2 separate regions of the Homo sapiens genome follow, and region 2 is linked to region 1. Evidence: promoter capture Hi-C in human tissues and cell types (Jung and others, 2019). All regions are on one chromosome and are shown on one strand. Each heading gives the region's core, a stretch centred on a gene start or on the middle of the fragment in contact. The rest is flanking DNA. Distances are from core to core; before and after follow the strand shown.

Region 1 (7,919 bases), core at 3,337-5,836:
CAATATTTGCAGTTTTTCAATGTTCAAGTCTTCAGATTTATCACTACATATTGTACTGTTGATGAAATTATAAACTGATTGTTTTTAATTTAAATGTTTGATTGTTAATTGCTAGCAAATAGAAATTTTTTTATTATTGATATCATATCCTATAACCTTACTTAACTCACTTATTAGTTCTAGTAACCTTTTTGTATATTCACTTGGATGCTCTACATAGATGATCATATTGTCCGCGAAATAAAGACGATTTAACTTCTTCTTCTTTTCCAATCTGAATGCCTTTTATTTCTTTTCTTTCTTAGAAACTCAAGAACAATATTGAATAGAAATGGTGAGAGCAGATATATTTGCCTTGCTTCTGATACTGGGGGAAAGCATTCAGTAGGTAAGCATTAAGTATGATGTTATTAGGTTGGTGCAAAAGTAAGTGCGGTTTTGCCATTAAAAGTAATTGCCCATTCAGTATGATATTGGCTGAGGGTTTGTCATAAAACTTATTGCGGCACTATTCACAATAGCAAAGACTTGGAACCAAGCCAAATGTCCAACAATGATAGACTGGATTAAGAAAATGTGGCACATATACACCATGGAATACTATGCAGCCATAAAAAATGATGAGTTCATATCCTTTGTAGGGACATGGATGAAGCTGGAAACCATCATTCTCAGCAAACTATCGCAAGGACAAAAAACCAAACACCGCATGTTCTCACTCATAAGTGGGAATTGAACAATGAGAACACATGGACACAGGAAGGGGAACATCACACACCGGGGCCTGTTGTGGGGTGGGGGGAGGGATAGCATTAGAAGATATGCCTAATGTTAAATGACGAGTTAATGGGTGCAGCACACCAACATGGCACATGAATACATATGTACTAACCTTCACGTTGTGCACATGTACCCTAAAACTTAAAGTATAAAAAAAAAAAAAGTAATTGCAAAAAACACAATTACTTTTGCACCAAAAGATGCCTTTTATCAGGTTGAGGAAGTTCCCTTCTATTCTTAGATAGCTGAGAGCTTTTGTTTATTTTTTAAATCAGAACTGAATGTTGGATTTTTGAAATGTTTCTTCCTTGCTTAATGAGATTTTAAAAATCGGAAGTGAACGTTGGATTTTTGAAATGTATTTTATTTGCCTAATGAGTTTTTTTTTTTTTTTTTTTTTTTTTTTTTTTTTTTGAGACGGAGTCTCGCTCTGTCACCCAGGATGGAGTGCAGTGGTGTGATCTCGGCTCACTGCAATCTCCGCCTCCTGGGTTCAAGCAAGTCTCATGCCTCAGCCTCCCAAGTTGCTGGGATTACAGGAATCTGCCACTGCGCCCAGCTAAATTTTTTTTGTATTTGTAGTAGAGACGGGGTTTCATCATGTTGGCCAGGCTGGTCTCGAACTCTTGACCTCAAGTTATTCGCCCACCTCGGCCTCCCAAAGTGCTAGGATTACAGGTGAGCCACTGCGCCCAGCCGCCTAAAGAGGTGTTTAAAATCAGAAGTGAATGTTGGATTTTTGAAATGTTTCTTCTTTGCCTAATGGGATTTTTAAAATCAGAAATGGATGGTCAATTTTTGAAATGTGTTTTATTTGTCTAGTGAGATTTTAAAAATCAGAAGTGAATGTTGGATTTTTGAAATGTTTTTCTTTGCCAATGAGATTATGTGGTTTTCTGTCTTTGTTAATATGGTGAATTAAATTGCTTTTTTTTTTTTTTTTGAGACGGAGTCTCGCTCTGTCGCCCAGGCTGGAGTGCAGTGGTGTGATCTCGGCTCACTGCAAGCCCCGCCTCTCAGGTTCACGCCATTCTCCAGCCTCAGCCTACCGAGTAGCTGGGACTACAGGTGCCTGCCACCACGCCCGGCTAATTTTTTGTGTTTTTAGTAGAGACGGGGTTTCACCGTGTTAGCCAGGATGGTCTCGATCTCCTGACCTCGTGATCCGTCCACCTCGGCCTCCCAAAGTGCTGGGATTACAGGCGTGAGCCACTGCGCCAGCCACGTTGATTAATTTTTAAATGTTAAGTCAGCCTTGCACACCTGGAATAAATTTTACTTGCTCATCATGTATTATCTTTTAAAAACATATTATTGGGTTTGATTCACTAACATTATATTTAAAAATTTTGTATTAACATTTATGATGGATATAGGTCAGTAGTAGTATATGCTTATAACATTTTTGGTTTTGGTATTGGGATAATGTTGGCATCATATAATGAGCTGTGAAGTATTTTCTCCTTCTCAATTTTCTGGAGGAGTTTGTGTAGGATTGGAATGATACCTTCCTTAAATACGTCATAGAATTTGTCAGTGAAACCATTTGGGCAGCAAGAATTCTACCACTGAACAACCAATGCCTCTCAAGTGAAACCATCTGGGCCCAAAGTTTTCTCTCTGGGCAAGTTTTAAACTATGAATTTAATTTCTTTAATAGATACGGGGCAATTGAAGTTATCTATTTTTCCTTGAGTGAGCTTTGTTGGTTTTAAGGAATCTACCCACTTTGTCTAAGTTTTTAATTTATTAACATAAAGATGTTCCTAGTATTTCCTTATTATCCCTTATAGAATATTTATAGAATGTCTATAAAATCTGTAGAATTGTCATTTCTCTCATTCCTGATATTGCTCATTTGTGTCTTCTCCTTTATTTCCCTCATTAGTCTGGAAAGAATCTCCTAAATTTTATTGAACTTCTCAAAGAATCAGCTTTGGTTTCACTGACTGTCTCTATTGTTTTTCTGTTTTCTATTTAATTAATTTCAGTTCTGATCTTTATTATTTCCTTTTCTCTACATACTTTGAACTTAATTTTTCCTTCTTTGGTGGAAAATGAGGTCATTGTTTCAAAACTTCTTCTCTTCATATATGGTTATTTAGTGCTATAATTTCATCCTAAATAACTGCTTTAGTGACATCCCACAGATTTTGATATGCTATGCTTTCATTTTCAGTCATCCCATATATTTTGAATTTCCCTTTTGGTTTCTTCTTTCACCCATTGACTATTTATGAGTGTTCCACTTAGCCTTAAAATACTTGCGGTTTTCCAGAATTCTTTTGTTATTGATTTCTGATTGCCTTCCATTGTGGTCAGTAAACATAATTTGTACGACTTGAATTCTTTTAAATTTATTGAGATTCATTTTGGGGCTCAGAATACGTTCTATCTTGGTAAATGGTGCAGGTACACTTGAAAAGAATGTTTATTCTTCTGTTGTTGGATGAAGTCGTCTGTAAATGTCAATTAGATCAAGTTGGATGATACTTCTGTTTAAAGGTTGTATATCCATTATATTTTTCTTTCAATTATTAATAGATGGCTATTGAAATCTCTAACCATAATTCATGTTAATTCAAATTAAGGAAAAGAAAGGCAGGTTTAGTTCACCAACCTCCACTGATGAATGTGTGTGTGGGTAAGGGTGTCACTCCCATAAGTGACTCGAGCCTTGTTAAAAGTTCTTAGGCCCTTTAATCTGCCCAAGTAAACATGCTATATGAATAAAAACAAAGCATTCACTATGAAAACAGCTTCAAGGCAAATTTCCTTCCCATTCAATTCACTTCCTTTTAACCTTACTTTTTCCCTACATATAAAGCTTTATTTGTATATAAATACCATATATTTTTGTATATATAGTTTCTGGAGATACCACTGTTGCATAGTGATATAGCATTAGTGGTCTTATGTGTTTCACCTTCTTTAATATTGTAACACAAAAATTGGCATATTCCTGAAAATTCTAAACAAGTATATAGAGAAAGACGGTCAAGTTTTTGAATGCATGAATTGAAGAAATAGTTTAGGGATTACCTGCATTATAGTACATCTAGGGTTCAAGAGAATGGTGCACTCATGTTGCAAAACTTGTTAGACATAAAGTCTAGTTTTCTACTTTGCATTCTGCAGCTAACACAGATAATTGAGAGATAATGGACAGCTAAATCTGTTGTCTTTATGCACCTTTGGACATCTTGCTACTTTTGACATTTTCAATGTCTGTTTTTGAAATGTAGTTTGAATACTCAATTGATAGATTTTTAAGCTTTTATGTCACTGCTTATTTCAGTTAAATCAGAGAGATTTCAGGGGAGTTACTGTTTATAGATTGTTAAAGATCCCTCAGGCAACGTCAAGGCTGCTGCATGTGGACAGTTTCTTGAATTATAGCACAGAAACTTTAATACCTACCTCAAGAATGATAGGGGTCTTAAATAGGCAGTCATATTTACTAAAGAAACCTAGAGTTTTCTTAGATTGCCAACCTTGGTAAGACAAGAAATGTCAGGGTGACAGAGTTTAAGTGGCTCTTTTCAGGTATCTTACACTGATTCTCTATATTTAAGATGTGAAACAGCCTCATAGGAGCTGTTTAATTAAGTGAAAGTAAGTCTAGTCCTTTTGGAACCGAACGGTTCAGTGAGCAAATACATATCACCAAGTGAAGGAAGTGGGGAAGTTATTATGTGCTTCATAGACTCGATGACACTTTATAACCCCATATCAGGGATCCTAAACAGTGATTGGTTGAGAAAATTATCAAACTGAGTTTAAATTTCGGCAAGTACAAAATTGTCATGCAAAAGTCCAGGACAGTGGGCCACTTTCAGTCTTCAAAGAGAAAGATAAGAAATTCTGGATTTTCAAAATCCTTTTGAAGCCTTTTAAGGTAAGATGAAATATCCTTTTTACTCAGAACCAACTGATTCATTTAGAAAGAACTTTGAATTTCAAAGATGAAGCCAGTTTGATTTTAAGAAGCGAGTACCCCTTAATGATTAGATTGTATGCTTCCTTTTTGACTTGTCATATTGATAGTATGTATAAAAGATAACGGACAATTACGACCTAAGGAAGAGATAGATTGGGAAGAAGAAAGACCTCGTACTGAAAAATTGGCCAACTGAGGTGGAAATTTGACAATTAACTATCTGGGCACTTTGATTAGTTTTGATAAAAAATGAGATAACTCAGATTTCAAAAATCCACCTTGGGCTTTCAAACAAGGCTTCAATTAGGCTTTGCTTTTTAGTATTTTATTACTTACTATTACTTATTATTTATTGTCCCACATGAAATGAAATTTAGCAATCACTAATGATGCCAAATCTAATTGCTAAATGAAATGAAGCTAAATCTCATTTCATTAGTAACAATAAATGAAATAATCTGATGGAGCTTCACAAATTCTGAAGTCTTTGTTTCATGCTGAGATCACCTGGGCCATTTTTATTGTAGTCTTCGAAGTCATTCACCTGCCTTGGAAACGGTGATAACCATCATGGAATTGTTCAGGAGTGGAGCTGAAAGAGAGATGTAGTGGTCAGATTTCTGAACTGTAGCTCAGAAACTGGACACGCATCACTCTGGCCTTGGCTGCAGGTACCTTTCCAGTATGCTGAGGCTCTTCCAAATCACAGTGCAGACGGGCCTTCTGCAGAGCTATGTAATGATTAGGCTTGGGACTGCAAAGTACAGGATAACTGTGGCTTAGTAAACAGCTGGCCTTCAACATCTGTGCCCCAGAGCTCTGCATGATACTTGTCCTGGTGTCACCTCAGCCTCACTTGAATCTATGGCATTTCAGAAGGAGCTCTAGCTGTTCTTGGCTTTCTGTTGAACAGCTATAAGAATGAGCACTTTTTTCCCCCTCAGTAGCTCTGGAACTGTGTCATCTCTCCTGTGAGAAAACGCCAGTAATTCTCATGACAGTTGATATTCAGTGAAGTTTTATTATATTTTCACTACCACCATTAAATTCAATCAAAGCCATTTTATGACATGCAGCATTATAATCTATACATCTGGTGGGAGTTCATGAAATAGGAGTAAAACTCTCCTTTCTATCATTACTTCAAGAAATCCAACTTGCAATATAAATTAATTTTTTTACTCACACAGATTATAAAATGTCTATTCCAACTTATCAGAAACATGTTTTAGACCATTTCTGAATTTGAATTCTAACAGGGATGAAGAATCATGATTTTAGAAGTCCCATAAAATAATTGCTATCATTTATTCAAAAATTGCAAAGTGCCTGAAGCAATGCTAGATATTGCTGATAGTCATAAATATTTATCAACAACATTCAGAAAACGTTTTTTTCTGTGCTTTGCATTGGAATACAATAATCACCAAGACACTCTCCTGGGCCTCAGGAGCTTACAGGAAATCAGGGCAACACATAAGTAACTAGGCAATTTTAAACAGTGCAATGCGTTACCAGTGAGACGTGCAAACTTCCTTGGTATAAAAAGGAAAGAGATACCAAATACCCTTTGAAGTGGCGTCAGAGAGGGCTTCTCAGAGATAATTCTACCAAACTTCAGGATAATCCTGAGGTGCAGGTGTTGTTATTATTCCAGGTGGAGGGATAATAAACCTACTTAAATTTCTCAAGCTTACACAGCAAGTAGCAGGGGTAACATTTGAACCCAGGTCTCTGAATACAAACCCCGTATTCTTTCCACTAGCGTAGGCTCCCTCATGTTAGTAATTTCTTTCTCTTAAAGTCTGGTATAGCTCAATTCTATAGATTTGGAGTAAGGATGACAAGTGTTTTACCTTTGAAGCACAATTTCAGCAGAATTAGTTAGTACTTGATTAAAGCTATTCAGAAGAGAAATAGATGTTTTTACACCCAAGAATTGCAGAAGAACAAAGTTACAGCTATGCCCTTTGTACCTATTATGGCGTTTTCCTTCATTGGCACAGGCAGAAAAAAATCTAGGAAGCTACATTAGTGCTGAGCCTGGTGATGCCCCCATAACCACACCAGGTATGTTCTGGACCATCGTATGTCTTCTCGTGTTAGATACATGCTTCTTGTCCAGGAAAAGGGCAAATGCTTACACATCAAAATAATATAGTACTATGATTTTCCCTTTACTTTATAAGTAATTTTGTGCTGTTCCTTTTTTATACAGCCATTGATTATTATTATTCCTAAAGAAAATGAAGATAATTACATATTTTTGCATTTGGGCAGTAGCATGGGCCATTCCAGTAAGTATGCCTTTCTTAGAAAACCTCTTCACTTTGTTATCTTTTTTAACCTAACATTAATACAAAATGTAGTGTGTGTGTGTGTGTGTGTGTGTGTGTGTGTGCATGTACATGTGTGTATATATGTGTGTGTGTATATATGTTTCCTTAATTTTTTTTAACAGGCTGAGTCTAAACATTTAGATTTGCACTAAGGGCTTTATGTGATATCTGTGAGGTTTCAACAAAACCACTCCAATTCATCGTCTCATTCCTCTATAGAAACTCATATCTCGTCTGAAGGATTATTATTATTTAAAACATTTATTCAGATTAATTTACACTTAATGCCCAGAAGTCATGGAGACTTTGTCCATCTTTGCTTCATACTCTGTGAATTTCATTCTAATACGAACAAAGTCTGTGCTGTTTAGGAAGTTTCCAAGAAAGAATAATAAGAAAAAGTAGATTTTTTTTCAACATATAGGAGACTAATTTTTCACTCAGAGTTATTATTTATGTGCTCACTGTGGAAAATTTGGAATATATGATGAAAACCAATAAAAAATTGAGAAAATTCAACCATTTATAATTTTACTAGCCAGCCATCATGTTTAACATTTTCATATGCTTTCATAATACCAAACATTTGGTATTTATGTAGTTGAAAATGTTCTCAAGTATTTCAAATGTGCTCTTGCAGAGCACAGAAGTATACTAGCGTAATACTTGATTTTGCCTCTGTGCAGGCTCTGGTCACGCCTCCTGTTCTCTTAAGAGTTTTCATCAGGATTACACTTAGAGCGGGTTTGTGCTAGTGCAAGAGGCTTTTTGTAGAGAAACACCAGAGGTCTATCCCCTCGTCTTTCTACAAGACTCTTTCCTTCTACAGTTGAGATAAGTGGGCTGATCTAACACGTCCA
Region 2 (7,544 bases), core at 2,162-4,661, 48 kb before region 1:
AAGGAAATACATTAGCCTTTGAAGTAGACCAATTAAAATTCAAGAAACCATATTAAGTTTTGAGTTTCCAAGTATTTTCCAAATCTTTTTCTCGTAGTTCTTTGTCCCATAATGAAGGTCTAGCTCTAGTGATCAGTGGTGATGCACAGTTATATTTGCAATGTTATCAATTACCAAAACTCTTTTGGGTTTTTGGTTAAATGCTATTTTGTATGATTAGAACTCTAACAAGTAGCAATGTGATCATCTACATAGCCTGTACTTAGGGTTTTAAAATACTCTGTCCATGGATAGAGTGGTGTAGACATCAAAGTATTATAGACCCTAAAATTTAGAGTAAAAACTACCTCTGTGGTCAGTGCAATCACATGCTGAGGACTCCTAAGTCTGATTTACTCGGGACATGTATTGCTTTCACATTTCAAAACAAGCTTTAAAAAAATTCAATCTAAGGTTGCAATTGGTTATTTACCAGTTTAGAATTATCCTATAATTTAGAGGTAGTTTTCTGCTCTGTGAGAGTTGGTCCACAGCATCTCTAGGAAGTCAGCATTTTAAAATATAATCAATGAAAATTAATACACTTGGGAATTAGCATGTTAATGGAACTTGAAAGAAGAAGGCTCATGTTGCAATGTTACCTTTAGAAGAAGGTAAGTAACCCTTTTATAGAAAGGGGATTAATAGTGGGTCTTTTTCTGTAGCATGGTCAATGGCCAAAGAATGATTTTGCTTCATAGACTGTGATTGTGATTCATTAGGGAATACCTAAAATGAAGGGAGCTTTCTATCCAGCCGGCTTAGCTTCATAAATATGCCTGTAAGAACATCCCACGTCCTGTACTTTCCTTCTGCAAATATTTGCTCTGAGGTTTGTGCTCTTGGGTGATCCACCAAGCCAGAGGAAATGAGTACCCTTCCCCTGGGCAAGCTTTGTCAGATATAGTTATACTTGATATGCTAGCTTGTAGATACATCTCTTGGGAGTTTGGCATGGCTCAATGCCTGTATATTCTTCTATCTCTAGGTCAATGAATAAAATAGCTCCTAGTCCCCAAAGCTGGGAGCAGATCATTGACCTCAGTGTAAGCCATTCACTGAGAGTCAGTTTGAAATAGCCATTCCTGAGTTCAAATTATCACATTTACCTTATACTAACTTTATGTTTAGGAAGCACTATTTTAATTTAAATAGTTCTCAATTTTAAATTGGGCATGCAAAGAAAGGAAAGGTAATGCTCTTAAAAATAAACGATTTCTCCTCTACATACATAGTAGCATGGGAAAAAATATTGATAATATTAAATGCTGTTGAGAATGCAGAGATACTTAGATCTCTCATACTGAGATCTCTCATAAATTGGGGCATCTACTCTGGAAAAGAGTTTGGCAGTTTCATATAAAATTAAACATTACTTACCATACATTCTAGCATATGCAATCTTGGGCATTTATCCTAGAGAAATGAAAACTTATGTTCACACAAAAACCTGTACACAAATATTTTCTGCGGCTTTATTTGCAATAACTCTAGGTGGAAACAACCCAAGTGTCCTTCAAAAGGTGGATGGATAAAGAAACTGAGGTAAATCTATACAATGGAATTCTATGCTGAAATATAAAGGGGTGAAGTATTCATATAGCACGTCAGCTTGGATAGATCTTAAGGGTATTATGCTAAGTGAAAAATGCCAGTCTCAATGGGTTACATAAGATATGATTCCACGTATATCACATTCTTGAAATGGTAACATTTTTAAAGATCAGGTAATGGAGACAGATCAGTGGTTGCCAAGGATTAAGGATGAGGATGGAGAGCGGGTGCGGCTATAAAGGGGTATCACAACAGAGCTCCTTTGTGGTGATGGAATCTATACGTGAGATAACATTTCATAGAACTATGCAAAACAATGACTGCATGTGAAAACCAATGGAATTTTAGTAGTCTATAGTCTAGTTAGTAGTATTCCTGGTTTTGATAATGCATTATACTTAAGTAAGATGTTACCTTTGGGGGAAACTGGGGGAAGGGCCCGCAGGACCTTTCTGTACTATTTTTTGCAATTTTTCTTGAGTTTATAATTATTTCAATAAATTAAAAATAATGACTACATTAACACATAAGCCATGACAGATTTCTTTCTTTCTTTACAAGGGAGCAATGCAATAGGAGGGAAAATGCCAAACTGCAAATTAAAAGAGTTCTGCTTTTATATGTCTGTCCCTCTGGGAATATTTCTTCTGAAGAAAGATTTCCCGGGATAAAGTTTGAAAACCACTTCTTAAAAGATTGTGGAAATTTCTTGAGACAATAAAAATCAAATCATGTGAAATCATTTAGTTTTTAATCAAGAAAAGGAGTTGTATTTTAGAAGGTGATCTGATACATTATTTGTTACAATCAAGGTTATACCTTCCAAGGGAAGTGATTACAAATAGCCACATAATTTAGACATGGTATTAGAATTCGTTGGTTTGTTATGAAATCACAGATGCTGATTTAACCCTAGCTAATATACTGTTTGCTGCATTGCAGAGAAATGAAATTGTTAGAGGACTCATCCTAGCAGTCACTTAAAACTGGCAGTTAGCTGGTGGCGTCATGATTTTTTGATCTGAGATCCAGATAGACAAGACACAGGATTTGTTGCCAAAGCAAACTGCATCTCTAGATACTCCAGCACTATTTATTTGCATTCATAAAATTTTGCTCTCATTCAGATATTTTGAACTGCAGAGCAGTTTGTGGTGGTTGTCCATTGCCTTGTGTAGCATGTACACAATGTTTTGTGTAGCATCTGTGGAGGCAAAGCTTTCTTGATAGGCTCTGTACAAATGGGGTTTGGATGGTTCACTGTCTGTGTTCAGCATATCTATCCAGAGCCCCAATTCGTCTCTCCTTCCGGTGACCGATGCCTGATTACTACTGTGGTACCTAGGCAGGGCCTCCGGGTAATTATAGAGTCGGCTCTGTGGTTGTCTTCCAGGAAATGGCAAGTACCAGTTGCCCTAGTGTGTCCCTGCAGACTTCACTCAAGGGACAACAGGAAACAAATGCCATATAAGGGCATCCCACGGCAGCTGCTGCTTTTCTGAGGACAATTGGAAGGTAGACAGGTTCTCTTTTGCCATTTCCATTACCCCTTTCTAGATCAATTTTAGCTCATTATTAAGAAAAATGTGTGGATATATGATGATCCTCAAAAGGACCTACATGAACTTTTCTTTTATCTTTTCTTTCTTCTTTTTCTTTTTCTTTCTCTTTTTTTTTTTTTTTTTTGAGACAGAGTTTTGCTCTTGTCACCCAGGCTGGAGTGCAATGGCACAATCTCGGCTCACTGCAACCTCCACCTCCCCGGTTCAAGTGATTCTCCTGCCTCAGCCTCGTGAGTAGCTGGAATTACAGGCGCCTGCCACTATGCCCGGCTAATTTTTGTATTTTTAGTAGAGATGGGGTTTCACCATGTTGGCCAGGCTAATCTCGAACTCCTGACCTCAGGCGATCTGCCTGCCTCAGCCTAAGTGCTGAGATTAGAGGCATGAGCCACCACGCCTGGCTACATGAAATTTTGCACCAGAGTTTTAGATACTTGCTGTTGACTTTCTTCTATTTACAGTGACTCTGAGAATGTATTTGCAGCTTTTTAAATATTATTAGCTTTCTGCTAAGTCTCCTGGAAAGTCCTTAAAAGAGTTTCTCTGTTTTTATCATTTATTTGAGAGAACAGTAGCTTTATTAGCTTGTAGCCAGAAATAGATTTTAACGTTATAACTCAATTCCCAGAATTAAATTTATCAGTTGTAGAAATTCAGCTCTGAACTGTTAACTTTTGCTGTATGATGTGAAATGAGAGCAGGAGGAGAGGAAGTATGTTACTGGCAGAAGACAAGTCAGACAGGATCTTCTCAGGTATCCTCATAGTCAATTGCTCTTGGCAACTTGTTCCATTTTCCTACCATCAGAGGAAGTTGACAGGATGTCATAACATGAAAGGAGGCCGTTGTAGGAAAAGCTTTGGAATGCCATGGACTATTATGTGGCCATTAAAAATAATGAATTAGAGGGCATCCAAATAATTTGCAGGAATTTCCATAAATTATTGTCGAATGAGGAAAACAAGAGGCCAAAGAGTGTGATGCTGTATGGAGCACTCAGCACTAGTCTCTCTTGCTCGCAGGTTGTACGTTTGGCAGGAGTAGCAGCTAAATCAACCTTGATGAATGGGAACCTAGGTTGGACATATGCATAGCCTCTCTCCCTGCCATGATGGTTACTTCATCCACTTGGCCATCTGATTGGGGTTGCTGATGACAGAGGCTGACTGATGTGAGTTGGCTGAGTCATTTTGTCTATGACTGGCTGTTTGGTGTTCCTTCCATGTTGGCACTCTTTGGTGGGTGTTAACATGTCTCATGAAACTCTTCATTCTTCATGCTTGTTCTTTAATGTCCAACTGCATGTCTATTTCCAACATCTCCTTTTTCTAGATTTTCCAATCTTTTCCTTTTTTAAGCCCCTGTGGTGGGTTGAACAGTGTCCCCCCAAAATTCATGTCCACCTCAAACCTCAGAATGTGACCTTATTTGAAAATAGTGTCTTTGCAGATGCAATTGGTTAAAAATCTTGAGATGAAACATCTTGGAATCGTCCTGAACATATCTTGACTTGTGTTTTTATAAGAAGAGGAGAGCACAAGAGAGCTCCATAGGGAAGAAGGTGATATGACAACAGTGGCAGAAATTGGAATGATGAGTCTGCAAGTCAAGGAACACCAAGAATTGCCAGCAATCACCAGAAGCTAGGAGAGAGGCCCGGGATGCTTTCTTCCTTGGAGCCTCCAGAAAAACCAACCCTGCTGACAACTTGATTTCAGACTTCTGGCCTCCTAAACCATGAGGGAGTAAATTATTTTTATTTTTTTTGTAGAGACAGAGTCTTGCTACATTGCCCAGGCTGATCTTGAACTCCTGGCCTCAAGAGATCCTCCTGCCTTGGCCTCCCAAAGCTCTGGAATTATAGGAGTGAATCACTGTACCCAGCCAAGAGGGAGTAAACTGAAGCTGCTCAATTTGTGGTCATTTCCATGGCAGCTCAGTGAAACTAGTACAGTCCCTGACCAGCAGGCCATGCGTTGGCCACTGTCCATAAGTCCATGTATATTTTAATCTTGGATCACTTCCTTTTTTGTACAAAGTGGATGATCAGGTACCCAGCTTGAAGCTCTAATCATGTGGAAAATTTCTCTTACCACCACCCTTCAAGGCTATCCCTTAAACTTCTATGACAGCAGATGTCTCTGACAATAAATTTAATATATTAAAACTGAAAATGTCTGAATATTAAAAGATATTTTGAAGAAAGTGGAAAAATAAACTGAGACAAAATATTCATGACACCCTGGCAAAGAATTGATAGCAATAATATCTAAAGGACCTAAAGGACATCTGTAAGCTAATAAAGAATGGCCATACCAGTGATTTAAAAATGGACAAAAGCCATGAATAGGAAGCTCACAGAAGAGATAAAACATATGGCCAATAAACCTACAAAGAGATACTCAAGTTCATTAGTGATCAGTGAAATGGATAACCAAAAATCAGGATGACAATGAGATACTATTTTAAACATAGTAAATTGGCAAGTTTAAAAAGTCTAATAACACAAAATATTGGGAAGGTTGTGGATCAGTAGATTAGTTTATAGTTTGCTGGTGGGAGTGTTCAACCACTTTAGCAAGGAATTTGGCATTATCTCTTAAAGCTGGAGACTCATATATCTATGATGAGTAATTCTACACTGGGCATATACTCAAAAGAAATTATTGCAGGTGTACATTAGGAGACATCTACAAGAATGTCCATGGAAGCATTTCTGTTTGAAATAGCAAAAGCTTTGAAAAAAACTTACATGCCTCATGACAGGAGAAGAGATAAATTGTGGTACCTTCATACAATAAAATATCTTACTGGAAAGAAAATGAATATAAACGATGCTAGAAATATAATTTGAATAAAAATTAAGCTCTCAAAAGGTTACATGTACTACAAAACACATTTTAAAAAGTTACAAACAACATGAAGGGTTGTTGAATTTTGTCAAAGGCTTTTTCTGCATCTATTGAGATAATCATGTGGTTTTTGTCTTTGGCTCTGTTTATATGCTGGATTACATTTATTGATTTGCGTATATTGAACCAGCCTTGCATCCCAGGGATGAAGCCCACTTGATCATGGTGGATAAGCTTTTTGATGTGCTGCTGGATTCGGTTTGCCAATATTTTAGGTATTGATGGGACGTATTTCAAAATAATAAGAGCTATCTATGACAAACCCACAGCCAATATCATACTGAATGGGCAAAAACTGGAAGCATTCCCTTTGAAAACTGGCACAAGACAGGGATGCCCTCTCTCACCGCTCCTATTCAACATAGTGTTGGAAGTTCTGGCCAGGGCAATCAGGCAGGAGAAGGAAATAAAGGGTATTCAATTAGGAAAAGAGGAAGTCAAATTGTCCCTGTTTGCAGACGACATGATTGTTTATCTAGAAAACCCCATCGTCTCAGCCCAAAATCTCCTTAAGCTGATAAGCAACTTCAGCAAAGTCTCAGGATACAAAATCAATGTACAAAAATCACAAGCATTCTTATACACCAACAACAGACAAACAGAGAGCCAAATCATGGGTGAACTCCCATTCACAATTGCTTCAAAGAGAATAAAATACCTAGGAATCCAACTTACAAGGGATGTGAAGGACCTCTTCAAGGAGAACTACAAACCACTGCTCAAGGAAATAAAAGAGGACACAAACAAATGGAAGAACATTCCATGCTCATGGGTAGGAAGAATCAATATCGTGAAAATGGCCATACTGCCCAAGGTAATTTACAGATTCAATGCCATCCCCATCAAGCTACCAATGACTTTCTTCACAGAATTGGAAAAAACTACTTTAAAGTTCATATGGAACCAAAAAAGAGCCCGCATCGCCAAGTCAATCCTAAGCCAAAAGAACAAAGCTGGAGGCATCACACTACCTGACTTCAAACTATACTACAAGGCTACAGTAACCAAAACAGCATGGTACTGGTACCAAAACAGAGATATAGATCAATGGAACAGAACAGAGCCCTCAGAAATAATGCCGCATATCTACAACTATCTGATCTTTGACAAACCTGAGAAAAACAAGCAATGGGGAAAGGATTCCCTATTTAATAAATGGTGCTGGGAAAACTGGCTAGCCATATGTAGAAAGCTGAAACTGGATCCCTTCCTTACACCTTATACAAAAATCAATTCAAGATGGATTAAAGATTTAAACGTTAGACCTAAAACCATAAAAACCCTAGAAGAAAACCTAGGCATTACCATTCAGGACATAGGCGTGGGCAAGGACTTCATGTCCAAAACACCAAAAGCAATGGCAACAAAAGCCAAAATTGACAAATGGGATCTAATTAAACTAAAGAGCTTCTGCACAGCAAAAGAAACTACCATCAGAGTGAACAGGCAACCTACAACATGGGAGAAAATTTTCGCA

Evidence for each region. Contacts are between HindIII fragments. The study calls those that stand out against the background at their distance.
Region 2: a fragment that was not itself captured here is called in contact with the fragment with the promoter of DSPP in region 1 in 1 of the 25 tissues and cell types used here (adrenal gland).

Annotation. Positions count from the first base shown.
Region 1 is chr4:87,603,943-87,611,861 of GRCh38, forward strand. DSPP (dentin sialophosphoprotein) reads left to right here and starts at 4,587. Exons shown (of 5, transcript NM_014208.3): 1 at 4,587-4,678; 2 at 6,939-7,017. The coding sequence starts at 6,967. The region is part of intron 3 of DMP1-AS1 (DMP1 and DSPP antisense RNA 1); the gene reads right to left. The HindIII fragment of the contact is 7,231 bases long and covers 3,831-7,919 here.
Region 2 is chr4:87,556,675-87,564,218 of GRCh38, forward strand. No RefSeq gene overlaps it. Among named protein-coding and RNA genes, the nearest start is that of SPARCL1, 31 kb to the left of the region's middle. The HindIII fragment of the contact is 3,080 bases long and covers 1,872-4,951 here.